2 separate regions of the Homo sapiens genome follow, and region 2 is linked to region 1. The links are contacts of gene promoters, found by promoter capture Hi-C in blood cells and fetal thymus (Javierre and others, 2016). All regions are on one chromosome and are shown on one strand. Each heading gives the region's core, a stretch centred on a gene start or on the middle of the fragment in contact. The rest is flanking DNA. Distances are from core to core; before and after follow the strand shown. Region 1 holds the start of ZNF252P-AS1 (ZNF252P antisense RNA 1). Region 2 holds the start of ZNF7 (zinc finger protein 7).

Region 1 (6,934 bases), core at 469-2,968:
TGGAAGATTCCTGGGTCTTCTGCATGAGTTGCCCCTAATGCCCACAGTGTTTCTAAACGAGAAGGCAGGTACGTGGTACTTGGGGCGGCCATCTGTGTTAGCTAACTGCCTTTATCCAAAGTTAAAATAAACCTCATGTCTCTATGACAAGCAGGTAATTGCAACTTGGAGCCAGCCATCTGCTAAACTCCCACAGAGACAAGGAGGGAAGCTATCTTCCTTGGCCTTTTTATTTCAAAGAAATCACTCCAAGGTCCTTAAGAAAGGTCCTTAAGAAAGAAATTCCTGGTTTATAAAACTGGCAAGAGGCTTATGCAGCTTTTTAAAAAATTTACATACATTTCAAGAGGGCAAAGAAAGATTTTCCTATTACAAAGTTTTCTAAAAGAAATGGTCTTAGTAAAAGGAAAGGAGTGTCTCTTCCCTTGGGCACCATGAAAAATCCAACTTTTAAAAAAATATTTAGGGCCGGGCGTGGTGGCTGACACCTGTAATCCCAGCACTTTGGAAGGCTGAGACGGGTGGATCACTTGCGCTCAGGAGTTCAAGACCAGCCTGGGAAACATGGCAAAACACCACCTCTACAAAAAAATACAAAAACTAGCTGGGCGTGGTGGTGGGCGCCTGTGGTCCCAGCTACTCCGGAGGCTGAGGTGGGAGGATCGCTTGAGCCCAGGAGTCGGGCCGTAATTGCGCCACTGCACTCTGGCCTGGGAGACGGAGAGAGACCCTGTCCCGCCCCCACCTTCAACCACCCCCCAAAAAATTAAAGATTTAGTGTGGTGGCGCGTTGCTTGTAGTCCCAGTTACTCGGGAGGCTGAGGCAGGAGGATCGCTTGAGCCCGGGAGGTCGAGGTTGCAGCCTGGGCGACAGAGCAAAACCCCATCTCTAAAAAATAAAATACCCTATGGCTCTTCCCACAACTGCTCATTCTCTGACATCTTAATGCTCCCACTGTCCCACTGAAGACGGGCTGCTTTCCTTTCCATTCTCGTAAGTCCTCCCTCCGGGCCCGTGCTCCTCACCTGCCCGGGTCGCACCTGGCCTCTCCCCTCACTCCGCTTCACCCCCGCCCGCCGCCCGTTCCGCAAGCGCGTCTCAGCACCGAGTGGTTGGTTCTCGAACTCCAGCTCCACCGCAATAGGTCTGAAACCTCTCTGCACCTCGGCTTCCTCATTTAAGCGATGGCAGCAGCCTTCTAGAGGGGGCGATGAGGTCAAAAGACTACAGGTGGGAAGTGCTAGGTGCACAGCGGGCGCGAGCTGGATTCTGAGCTTGATCACTACTTGGAGGTGGGGGAAAAGTCGCCCGAGAGAGGGGGACAGTGCACCGCGAGACGTCCTAGGTGAGGAAGGGCCGGGTCCAGAGCACGGAGAACAACCCCCGGTTGAGGAGCGTCCGCAGGAACGCTCGGTGTCGGGGTCCCTTCCTTCGCAGCCGCACGCCGCCGGCGGCACCTCTGCACCTGCGCCCTCTCGCCCGCAGACTCCGCCAAGGGCTGGAAGGGACGTAACCGGGAAGGAGCAGGACTGCCGGAGCATTGAGTACTATCAGCCGCCTAGAGCGGACCCACGAAACCTGGAATTCAATTGGTTGGTGAGCTGAAGGGCAGGGCGGAAGTTCAGATTAGGCATTTCCGGCCCAGGGGGCTTGGCTCCCCGCGGCACGGGATTTAGCGTTCGCGCTCCTTCCCTTCCCGTGGTCGAGCCGAGTGAGTCCCGAGCTAGGGCGCCTGGTGCGGAGGTGCCGGAGTGGCGCTGGGGCGGGCAGGGGCGGTGCCGTGGTTCTGAGAGGCCGCAGGTCGGGCCCCGCGGCCTCAGTGACCCGTAGAGGACGCGTCGAGGGCGGCTGCGGGGTGCTGAGCGCCCGCTTTGTGTTGGCCGAGGCGCGGGCAGGGCGAGGGTGGCGTGAGGCACGAGCGGAGGCAGCGGGGCGTGCAGGTCTACGGGCTGTCATCCACGCTCCCGAGCAACACTGAGGCAGGGAAGCCAGATGGGTAAAAAGATCTCGCAGAGGAAGGGAGTTTGGGCAATGTCAGGGGATGAGCTGAATTGTGCTTTTTTTTTTTCAGAAGAGAGAAAAGTGCATTTCATTTAGCAGGAATGTATTGATTGAAAGGGTAAAGCTGTGAGAGCTGTGGTGTGAAGGAGCTTCTGTTTTGGGGAAGGAAAGGAATAGGCAGGAGGTGATATCTCACAGATGCGCTGGAACAAGCTCAACACTCATTCATTTAGTAGGCACTCGGTAAATGCTGACTTACTGATTAGGACAATTGAGACTTAGTATTGTTTGCGGTTTGCTAATACTGTGCTGAGCATTTTATACATATTCTCATTTAACGCAATATAGTCACTTAAGGAGTAGTGTCAATCTCATTTTATGGTCTGTGGAAAAACTCAAGTCACTTACCTGAGACCTCTGCATGAGTAAGTGGTGGATCCAAGGTTAGAACTCAGTCCTATTCGAGTCCAGAGCCCATGCGCCTAATAGCAGCATTACATGCCTGCCACATGCGTTTAGGAGTGAAGGCAGAGTACACTAAGAGGTACCGCTTGTGATTCACAAAGGGCATAAGCAGCAGGGGCCAGTCAAAGGCAAGCCCTGTCTGAGGACTGGAAGATTCCCTCTGGCCAAGGTGTGCCTCAGCTGGAGACTGTGAAGACATCAATGAGCTTATGTTCAGCTGCCAGTCAGAAAGTCTGTCCAACGAAGGCTTAAATGATGATGAGACAGGGTTTGTTCCAGAGTTTGTTGTGAAATGCCAGGGCTCTAGAACGTGTCTCCAACGTTCTCTTGGCTTTCCTTTGTGGTCACTCCATTCCCCTTATTTCCTTTCAGATGCCTCTTGGCAAACTTCCCTTAACATCTTGGTGACGAGAACTGGGCCTTGCGGTCACCTAGAGCGGAAGGAAAAGGGCGCATTTCCTCCTGAACTAAACTAAGGAATTTGTTTATGTGTAGAGGGCTGTGGGGAGGTGACTTGTTGTGTATGCTGAGGCCAATTGGGAAGGCTTTTGTGGGAGTGACACATATCACTGCTAAAATAAAACCAGATTTGTGGTTTTAGATGTCATCTGTGTACTGACAGTTTTCAGTATATACCCAGCCAGCCCAACCTCACTCCTGAATTTTCAACTTGTATATCCAAATGCCCTAATTTTCCATTTATAAATCTAATAGGTATCTTAAACATTACTGTATACAAGACAACTTTTACATTTAATCTTTTTGCAGTCTTACTCTTTTGAGTATATGGAAATTTCATAATTTCAGTTGCTCAGGCCAAAAATCTTGGTGTCTCGTCCTACATGAAATTCATCTGCAAATCCTATTGATGGTACCTTTGAAATGTATCCATAATCTGGCTGCTTTTTGTCACTTCTGCCACCACCAGTCTGGTCCAGGACATTCATCTCTAGCTGGATTGTTGCTAGAACCTTCTGACTGGTTTCCTGTTTTTGTTCCTTACCCCCACCCCATAGTCTATTCAAAGCACCCTCAAAGCAGCAGCTGTAGAGACCACATCTGAGGTCATATGACTCTTCCCAGACATTCCAGGCACTTCCCATCCATTCAGAATAAAACCCATTGCCCTAAGGCTTACAAGGTACCCACCCCAGAGGGTACCCACCTCTTTTACCCTCCCCTAGTCTGTTTGAGCCCCTCTGGCTTCTTTGCCCGTTCTTGAACACAGGTGTGCTTGCATCTCAGAGCCTTTGCACTTGTGCCCTCCTCCTGCCTGGGATGTACCTCACTGATAACCACATGGTGCCTACCCTCACTCCATCCAGATCTCTGATTTGTTGTCACTTTATCGGAGGTGTCTTCCCTGGCCATCCTGTGTAAAATATCTCTTACCACCAGTCGCTGCCCTCGTGCTGCGTCATTAATTTTTTGTATCCTTTGTCATTACCTGACACCACCTGGGCGTTGTGTCTGTGTGTCATGCATATGTGTTAACTTCTCCATTTGCTCATTCGCTGCCTTAGCACCAGAGCCTGGTCCGCTGTTCTCAGCTGTTTGCCGTCTGCGCAGGACCTCATAGGTGGGCCTGGGAAACGCAGTCCATTGTCTCTCCTGGCCAAGTGCACTGCCACAGTCCTGGCTTTCACATGGTGGCCTCAGGATGCTGTCATCCCAGGGGCCTCAGGAAGGCCTCTCTTGAGACATGGAGAGGTATGGCAGAAAATTAGGGAGGGGATATGGTCTCAGAGACCACTGGCTACTTAGTTCATCCACCTTTCCTGGGGTGTTCAGGCAGCTCATAATTGGGTCTCTGCTACCACAAAATGTCTAGGCTTAGAAGTCTCAGAGCACCTATGGGGAGCAGAAGGTTGGTCAGGCTCCATCACCCTCCTCTCCCTACAGCTCTGCCCACACCTCAGGACAAGCTCAGAGACCTAGTGATGGCTGTCATGCAGCTCCTTCTTGGTGGGCTCCAAGTGAGTGGTCCTCATGGAGTCTCTTCCATGTGACCTCAGCCTTTTCTCAGCAGGAGTCTGTCTATAAGGAGCTGGTCCCAGAGGGTGGACAGCTCCCTGTCTCCACCGATGTCCTCAGTTCCTGAGTTCAAGTCCCTGAAATGTACTTCTCACTGTTTTACTGTCCCTGGACCAGGTACAGTAGAGGTCAGAGTTGGGGCACACCAAGATGAGCCAATATAGTGTCTGCCTCAAAGAGTTCACATTAGTGGGGAAGACAGGTACATGTTCCCAGAGGGATTTTACCAGTCCTGAGCCTAATATCTTCTCCCTCCAGGTCCTGACCTGAGGGCTGCATCAAGATCTTGTCATTCCACATCGTGGTTTCCTTTGAGGATGTGGCTGTACCCCTCTCCCAGGAGGAGTGGGACTGTCTGATCCCTGCTCAGAGGGGCCTCTACAAGGATGTGATGATGGGGACCTATGGGAACCTACTCTCATTAGGTAAGTTCCCTCCCTGGGGCTCAGCTCCTGGGCTTCCTGCTCCTTAACCTTGAGGATCAAGCTTGGGGCTCAGAGGCTCCTCACCCCCTGGGCCCAAAGACCAGACATTTTGACCATGGTACCATGCAGGTCTGGTTTGCACAGAGAGGGGGACAGGTGGTACTGGGACCCTCCTTGATTTTTTTTTTTAATAGGCAATGTCTCACTCTGTTGCCCATCCTGGAGTGCAGTGGTGAGACCATAGCTCACTGTAACCTTGACGTCTTTGGTTGAAGAGATCCTCCTACCTCAGCCTCCCAAGTACCTGAGACTACAGGCATGGGCCACCATGCCTGTCTTATTTTACTTTTTTAGAGACAGAGCCTCTGTGTTGCCCAGGTTGGTCTCAAACTCCTAGCCTCAAGGAATCCTCCCACCTTGGCCTCCCATGCCTTTCCAACCCTCCCTGATTTATAGAAGGAGAATATTATTCATTGCACACCTAGTACCTCCCTATCCCCTGAATTAATCTTTCTGCATCTTGATGATCGGTGGTAGGATACACAGTTTATAAACGAACCTGAGGCTAACAAATACTGTCACTTTTCTTAAGTTTACACAGCCTATTGGTGGCAGATCTGGGATATGGATCTGTTCGGTTTCAGAGCCCTGCTTTCCTTTCACTGGAATGTGCTCTTCGCTTTAGCCCTTTTTTTTTTTTTTTTTTGGTTTCTGCTAGCCTTTATTTGAGAAAATTTACACAAAAATCCCCAATGCAACATTTACAAGTGAATCTGTATAAATCCCATATGCCTCTTTCCCAAACTGAAAAATGGCTTTATGACAGGGGTCCATGACAATGGTATAAAAATACTTACTTAAACTGCATCATTCTCATTTATATTATACAGACCATTTTGGATAATATGCTCAAAAGTGGAGGAAAGCACATAACACCCCTGTTTTTAAAGATTATTTGCTCTTGTATCAGTCTTTTGTCAAAGGCAAATACTTTTACTTCTTGGATAAAACCAAGGTATAATATCAATTAACTTTTAAACCAAAAGCACAAAATGTCCTAGTTGATAGTTTTGGCATGAGTAAAGGGAAGGGACATGAGAGAACATCAGCTCCTACAAAGCTTAAGTTTAGGGTCACACTTGGGAACAAAAGCATCAACAAAACAAAATATTCTCTTCTCCTATCTTCTTGACATTTTGTCACATCAGAAGAACATAACTAACAGAGTAGCTTTCATTGCTCCTGAAAAGGGGAAAGGCACCAGTCAGAAATAGGAAAGAAAATCTTGTTAGGTTAATGGTACATGATAGAATTTCACATTAAAAAGTTTAATGATGGAGGATGGGCGTAGTGGCTTACACATGTAATCCCAGCACTTTGGGAGGCTGAGGTCAGTGGATCACTTGAGGTCAGGAGTTCAAGACCATCCCGGCCAACACGGTGAAACTCCATCTCTACCAAAAATACAAAAACCAGCCAGGTGTGGTGGCATGCACCTGCACTCCCAGCCACTCTGGAGGCCGAGGCGGAAGAACTACCCGAACCCAGGAGGTGAAGGTTGCAGCAAGCTGAGATAGCACCATTGCACTTCAGCCTGGGCATCGCAGCAAGACTCTGTCCCAAAAAAAAAAAAAAAAAAAAAAAAAAGTTTAAGAATGGAATCCAAGTAGACTTGGATGTACCCTCTGTAACTTAGTATATGTAATACTACATGTAGACTTTCTCAACATCTGCTGCCTATGGTAAGGATCTGCAGCCAGGTTCTCAGAAGCAGTACCTACCAATTCTTAACAGCAGGTGGCAATGTTGTACAAGTTAACGACAGAACTACTTTTATGCCACATGAGAGGAAGATACAAGGAGTCAAAAGGGGGAAAAAAACAGGTTTGGGTTCATAGTAGCAGGAACATGAACAGAATAGCCTGAGATTTTAACAACATAACTCATTCCCTCTTCCACCTTTGTACTTTATCCAGGTCAACACATCAGGGTTCTCTAACAATTCCAG
Region 2 (6,502 bases), core at 3,231-5,730, 180 kb after region 1:
AAAGAAGCAGAGAAGATTTTTTTTTTAGACAGGGTCTCACTCTGTTGCCTAGGCTGGACTGCAGTGGCACAATCATAGCTGACTCCAACCTTGACCTTCCAGGCTCAGGCAATCCTCCCTCCTCGCTCTCCCCAGTAGCTGGGACTACAGGCATGCAACACCATGTCCGGCTGAAAAAGTGATTTATAATAAACAAAACTAACCTGGTACTTACCATATTTTATAAATTCTAAGATAGTCTTTTTTTTTTTTTTTTTTAGATGGAGTCTCGCTCTGTTGCCCAGGCCGGATTGCAGTGGTGCGATCTCAGCTCGCTGCAAGCTCCGCCTCCAGGGTTCAAGCGATTCTCGTGCCTCAGCCTCCCGAGTAGCTGGGATTACAGGCATGCGCCACCACACCCAGCTAATTTTTGTATTTTTAGTAGAGACGGGGGTTTCACCCTGTTGGCCAGGATGGTCTCGATCTCCTGACCTCATGATCCACCCGCCTCAGCCTCCCAAAGTGCTGGGATTACAGATATGAGCCACCGCGCCCGGCCCTAAGATAGTGTTTTTATAAAACCCTTTCCCATCTCTTGGACGCATCTAGGAATTGATGTCATCCGCCAGGTGGCAGCTGTGACACACCATCACTGCCTGTGCACACACGAGCTTGCCCCAGCTGCTCAGTCACTGCTGCAGGTAAGTCACCAGCACCATCATACAATACATGCTGAATTCAGCTGCTCTCTACACTGTCTTCAAAAGCTTTACCCTGTGACTTGGCACAGCAGCAGGACGTTATAAATAGACAGAAGCCATGGAAAAAGAACAGCAGCTGTACCTTTGAGCCTGGAGAAGCAAACTGCTGCTGGGGGAATGACTGCAATTCCAGTTACTGGTACATCAGCAACTGTGTACACACAGGGCCTGAGAGAGGAGGACAGGCACAGCAGATGGAGCTGCTACATGCCAAGCAAGAAAGCTCAAGCACCAAGCTCACTGGATGAAGAAAACCCCAACACCACTTACGAAAAGCTGCAGCACCTCTAGATGGCCAGGCCCACAGGTTGCCATCACGTGGAAAGCATGGACACAGATAACCAAACCAGAGAGTGGGGTCACTAAAAGCTGTGAAGAAACATTAGAAGTACCCTTACTCCGGCTGGGCACGGTGGCTCACACCTGTAATCCCAGCTACTCGGGAGGCTGAGGCAGGAGAATCGCTTGAACCCAGGAGGCGGAGGTGGCGGTGAGCCAAGATCGCGCCATTGCACTCCGGCATGGGTGACAGGGCAAGACTCCATCTCAAAATCTCAAAAAAAAAAAAAAAGGACCCTCACTGCATGTGTCTTTTCCTATTTCAGTGAGACAGGGTAAACCACATCTAAATGAGTCTAAGAGGGCTCTTTAAAAAGTATAAAGTAAAATTAAATGATTAAAAAATGCGTGTAATCAGTAGCATTCCAACTTTCTTAAAATAATGATGTGTACATAACTACATGTTTTACAAAGTAAGGCATCTTAGACAGAATGAAGAAACAACACCTTCAAAGCAATAAGACACAGCGGACCTAGAATATGGGCAAATGCCCTGAACAGATATTTCACAGAAGAACCTGGCAAGCTAATGAGGGTGTGAAAATAGGCTCAAGCTCAGCAGAAATCAGAGAAATGCAAACTCAAACTACAACAGCCTCCCACTGTACACTTATCTGACTGGCAAAACAGAAAGCTGGACTTTGCCAGACTAGCCGGGACAGAGGGGGACAGGCCTGGTCCAACACCCCAAGAAGCTCCTGGCCAACCAACGATGCCCGCGTCAGTTCCACTCCTGATCCCCCAGCCCAGGCACTCTCTCGGGCGTGTGATGCAGCAGAGGGCTTAGTCACAGGCAAGAGGCCCAGCAAGGCCCAAGTTAAGACGCACCCCCCCTCACCAAGTTGCAATCCAACGACAGTATACAGCTTGTGAGGACACAGGCATGGACATAAAGAGCACCGCAGTGGCTGCCTGTGGCGGTGGTGGAGTTCAGAGAGGAGACTAACGGCAGGACAGGAGGGGCAAGGGGATGACGGCATCTGCAAAGCAGCCGTGTGGGCGTCGCTGCCACCTCTTGCTCGTTGCACAACCTTTTCCTTGGATTTCTCCACCCAATAATTTCTCTTTTCTTGTCTAAGCTATTTCAAGTTTGGATTCTATTTCTCACAATTTAACAGCTTAGGAAAAAAAGAGGCTTTACTAACTCCCAGAATCCCACCCACTCCCTGGGGGCTGAACCCCATGACATGGGCAAAGCTAGGAACCAGCCTGGCACACCACTCATGAGTCCAAGCCCCCTGTGGAGCCCACAAGGGTCTGAGCGTTTGGCCTGCATACCCCAGCCTCTGATGGAGGCCTGGCTGGGTGGGTGCTGACTGATGATGCAGGGGAAGGGGCCCCAAGGTGCAGCCTCACCTAGTCCAGCCACACTGCTGTGGTTCTCCAGCATCACTTCCCTGTAGAGGGCCCTCTGGCCAGGGTCCAGACACTGCCACTCCTCCCGAGAGAAGTGCACAGCCACATCGCCAAATGTTACCACCTCCTGAAAGGACACACACCAGCACCCCAGGAATCCCTGGGTGCCAGCCCCCTTCTGGCGCTGCCTCATGACATGTCTCAGGCAGCTGCCCCATGGGGTTGGGCGAGACGCTCACCAGGACTCCTCTGCCTCTAATATTCTGGGGAGGGGCAGTCTCGGGGAGGAGGAAGGAACCCAGTCCATGGTGGTCATACAACCCTCCCCCCTCAAGAGCCTCAATTAGGCCCTGGTTTGGGCAGGGGTTTGCTCACTACCTTGGGGTTGGGGGCAAGGGGGCCTTCCTAAGCCCAGCAAGGGCCAAGGTAGGGTCTGGGCCCAGGGCCAGTGGGCAGAGCAGGAGGTGGGCCTTCACAGGACATGCGAGGGGAAGGAGGCAGTCAAGCTTCCTACCATGAGGCTCAGTGGTGGGTGGGCATCCACGTGTTCTGGCCGAGAGACCTGTTGGCAATTATGAAAGGATTAGAGGTCAAGGTGCCAGAAGCCCAACTTCCAGGCTAATCAAGGGGGTACTGTGCTCTCTGCTCCTTTACCTCCAGCCCCAGATTTCTCTAGCAGGGACATGGGGCTGGGCTGAAGCAGCCATGGCACTTGAGTGAAGGAGGCCCACTGAACTCTTGTTCCTCTTTAGAGTGTATGTGTGTGTGGCATGTGTGACTCACTCCACAAAGCCGTAAGAAGTGGATGCCACGTGCCAGGCACTGAGTAATGGGGATACAGTAGTGGACACGAGGACCCTGCCTTCACGAAGCAGTCTGGCGGAGGAAAGAGTTAAATAACCACACAAATAAGCACACTGCAACCACGACAGCGCTCAAGTACAGGGAACTATGAAAGCCACTTAGACTAGAACGTTCAGTGTAATGGGTCACTTCCCCAGGGACCTCGGCCAAGGTAATGGAGGTGGAGAGAGCACTCCAGGCAGCAGGAATAGCATGTGAAAGGGCCTGAAGCAAGAAGAAATGGGGTTGGATGAACCAGTGTGGGTAAATTCCCGGCAGCAAGGGAAGGCAGTGAGCGACTGGAGGTTGGGGAAGGCAGTGAGCGACTGGAGGTTGGAGAAGGCAGGAGCAAAAATGACAAACTGTAGGGAAGACAAGAGTGGACATGGAAACCCCTGCCCTCAAGTACATAAATTCCAGTCTCCAGCTCACCTGTCGCCAGGATGGAACCAGGCACAGGGATGTAATCTGATATAAATCGTTCACCTCAATTAAGCCAATGACCCCAGACCCTCTACCTGCCCAGGCATTCCCCCGGGAGGTCGGAATGGGAAAAAGAGTCTTCGTATGGCAGCTTCTGGCCCAGAAAGTGGTTTGTGGGTGGAAGCCCCAGGTCACCGGCACAGGTAGGCTGATCCCCCCACCTGGCTCCTGACAGTAGGAATGCCCGGAATAGCAACCAGAATTTAGAGAAGACAAACAGCCTACCCCACCCAAGGCACCGTTCCTTCCTCCACTGTCACTTATCCTAGGCCTTCCGGGGCAATAAATAGAAAGAGAAAAGGCTCTAGAAGGAGGTGATTTCGCAGGAGGAGTCAGGGCCCCGGGAGTAGACCCAGGCCTGAAGAAAAGGCCGCAGCTGGAGCTCGCCTTACTCAGGCCCCGGACACCGTGGCCGCCACGAGCGGGGTCTGCGGGGAGCTGCGAGACTCGGCCAAACGAAGCCCACCTCGCGCCGCCGCGGGGGAGGGTGGCTGGGCTCGACCACCTCCCACACCAGGCGCTCAAGGCCCCGCAAAGCCCCCGCGCTTTCCCGCCTGGAGGCCCGGGGGACGCGGGGACCCCAATGCCGAAGGCGGGAGGGCTAAGGAAGCGACCAGGGATCACTCGGACCGAGGGCAACCCGAGTCCGCGCCCGCCGCGCCGACTCACCCTCCCTGAGGACCACCCGAGGCTCGCAAACGCGCGACGCCGCCGGAAACGGGCCTTGGCCACCCGCGTCCGCCCCGCCCCGCAAACTTCCGGCCGCCCTGGGCCGCTCGGAGGCCCGGCCATCTCTGTGGTTCTCAGCCCCGCCTCCCAGGCTCCGGAGAAGGGGTGGAGTCAGAGCCGAGGAGGGGCGAGGCTGGGGCCCGAGGGACAAGAACCTGGGCGGGACCAGAAGCCCAGATAGGCGGGGCTGGCGCCTGGGGGCGGGGTACAGTCAGAGGCGGGCAGGGGGCGGAGCCGCGAGGGAGAGGAGGGCCCAGAGCCCGGAGTGGGCGGTGCCTGAGCAGGGGCGGGGCGGGGCCGGGGCCTGGAGCTGGGGACGCGGGCCGGGGCCGGGAGTTGCGGACTCGCTGGCGGGTGGGAGGAGCGGAGTCGGGGCGAGGCTGGCGGAGATCCAGGGGATCGCCCGGTTGGGCCCTGCGCACCCCGGATCACCAGCTTCGGGCGCTGGTTCCCACCGAGGCTGTTCAGGCGCCGCTCCCCCGCGTCCCTGCGACAGGAGGCGCCTGCTGGGCGCGCTATGGACCCCGCCTCGCGGAGACGCCTGGCTCGGGCCTTGTCCCCAGTGAGCGGCTGGAGCGGCCGCGGGGTCGCAGAGCCTCCGGGACCCCGAGGAAGGGCGCCCCTCGGAGTTGCCCGAGGCCGGGCCCGGCGTCCACTCGCCACTCGCCTCGCCCCTCCCCGGCCCCGCACCGCCCTCCACCCCGCCTCCTTCGGGTTCCTTCTGCGTCCGGCAGAGCCTGCGCGCCTCCCCCGGACGGCCACGGACTCGCAGCCTCGGCGAGGACGCTGCCTGCGTCCCGACTGCCTGGACCTCCCCGCGTGGCTCCCGGCGAAGCCCAGCAGCCGGAGGGTGCCAGGTCCGCCTGACGCGCCCCTCCCCACGGGAAGAACGGGGCGGGGGTCCAGGAGGGACGTAAGCCGGGCTCCCCCGGCGTGTTGATCCGAACCCGCGCGGGAAAACTTGCGCAAACCAAAGGAGGGAAGAGTCAGGCAGCCCCCAGCCCCCCAGGGAGGCCCAGGTGAAAAACAGACGCCGGCCTCGCCTCTCCCGGTGCGGATGATCCCGGCACTCCCACCCCCGCCCCTGCTGCCCCGAGTTCGGCTCCCTCAGCCCCACATCCTCTCTGGTCATCTAAGTGGACTGCAGCTGCTCAGGGAGCATGTCGCGAAGGATAGGGAAGGACAGGGGGTCTGCTTCCCCAGCCGCCCTCCAGACCCCCAGGGCTGGTAGGGGCCGGCAACCCTATGCCCCAACCTGGCCTGCTGCAGGTGAGGGGGGCACACCAGGGTAACACAGGAGCAGGAGGGGGAGAAAGCCTGGCTAGAGCATCCACCTCATAGGCACCTTCCTTGTGTCCAGGGTGCAGATGCCAGGGCTCTGAGGCCCTGAGGTCCTGTCTGGGGCGAGGGGGCTTCCTCCATCCACTGCATCCACTGCCCGGCTGAGTCTAGAGGCCACTGAGCAAGCAGACCCTCCAAAGCCAGGCACACTCAGGCCCTCACATGGTCACGGTGCTTATGCTCTGGGCCAGCCTGGATTGCTCATCCCTAGCTGAGATTGGGATTCACAGGGTCTTCCAGTTCCCCCTTTTCTTTCTCTACTGATTGAGAAACACAGAGTCCTTTGATTGCTCTGGGACCTGGCCATTGCGTGTTCCCTGCAGCCTTGAACCCAGTTCAATGGGGCCGGGCACATTCCCTGATAAAGCTGTTTAGGTTGCTTGAAAACACAATCAACCCTATTGCTAAACACGTAGAAACTGGCCCTGCCCTGAGTCCAATCCCTTAAACTCTCATCTAAGCTCCATAGCCAGAGTCCCTTGCTGCAAATGTACCTGGGTGGAGCATCCCTTGCCTCATCATCGATCCCAAGAAAGCTGAAGCTCCATGTGAAAATTTCCGGAAGAAATGCTCTGGACTGATCACCCTGGCGTTTAGAGCTTCTTTCCTTGGAATCCCAACCAATTCCATCGCGGGACTGTTTGGGGAAGTCTTTTGAGGCAACTCCCTTG

What was found. Contacts are between HindIII fragments. The CHiCAGO score rates a contact against its expected background, and 5 or more counts as called.
Region 2: the fragment with the promoter of ZNF7 here is called in contact with the fragment with the promoter of ZNF252P-AS1 in region 1 in 6 of 17 cell types (naive CD8 T cells, total CD8 T cells, total CD4 T cells and 3 more); the score reaches 6.6 in naive CD8 T cells.

What each region holds. Positions count from the first base shown.
Region 1 is chr8:144,997,595-145,004,528 of GRCh38, reverse strand. It overlaps ZNF252P-AS1 (ZNF252P antisense RNA 1), which reads right to left and starts at 1,718. Exons shown (of 1, transcript NR_026974.1): 1 at 1-1,718. It also overlaps the pseudogene ZNF252P and the pseudogene TMED10P1. RefSeq lists enhancers at 876-1,005, 749-1,325. The HindIII fragment of the contact is 5,513 bases long and covers 1-4,989 here.
Region 2 is chr8:144,825,538-144,832,039 of GRCh38, reverse strand. It overlaps ZNF7 (zinc finger protein 7), which reads right to left and starts at 4,480. Exons shown (of 5, transcript NM_003416.4): 1 at 4,431-4,480; 2 at 2,950-2,997; 3 at 2,436-2,562. The coding sequence starts at 2,952. LOC100130027 (a long non-coding RNA gene) reads left to right here and starts at 5,000. Exons shown (of 5, transcript NR_147501.1): 1 at 5,000-6,502. RefSeq lists enhancers at 3,251-3,776, 3,777-4,302, 4,303-4,828 and a silencer at 4,160-5,289. The HindIII fragment of the contact is 9,547 bases long and covers 2,944-6,502 here.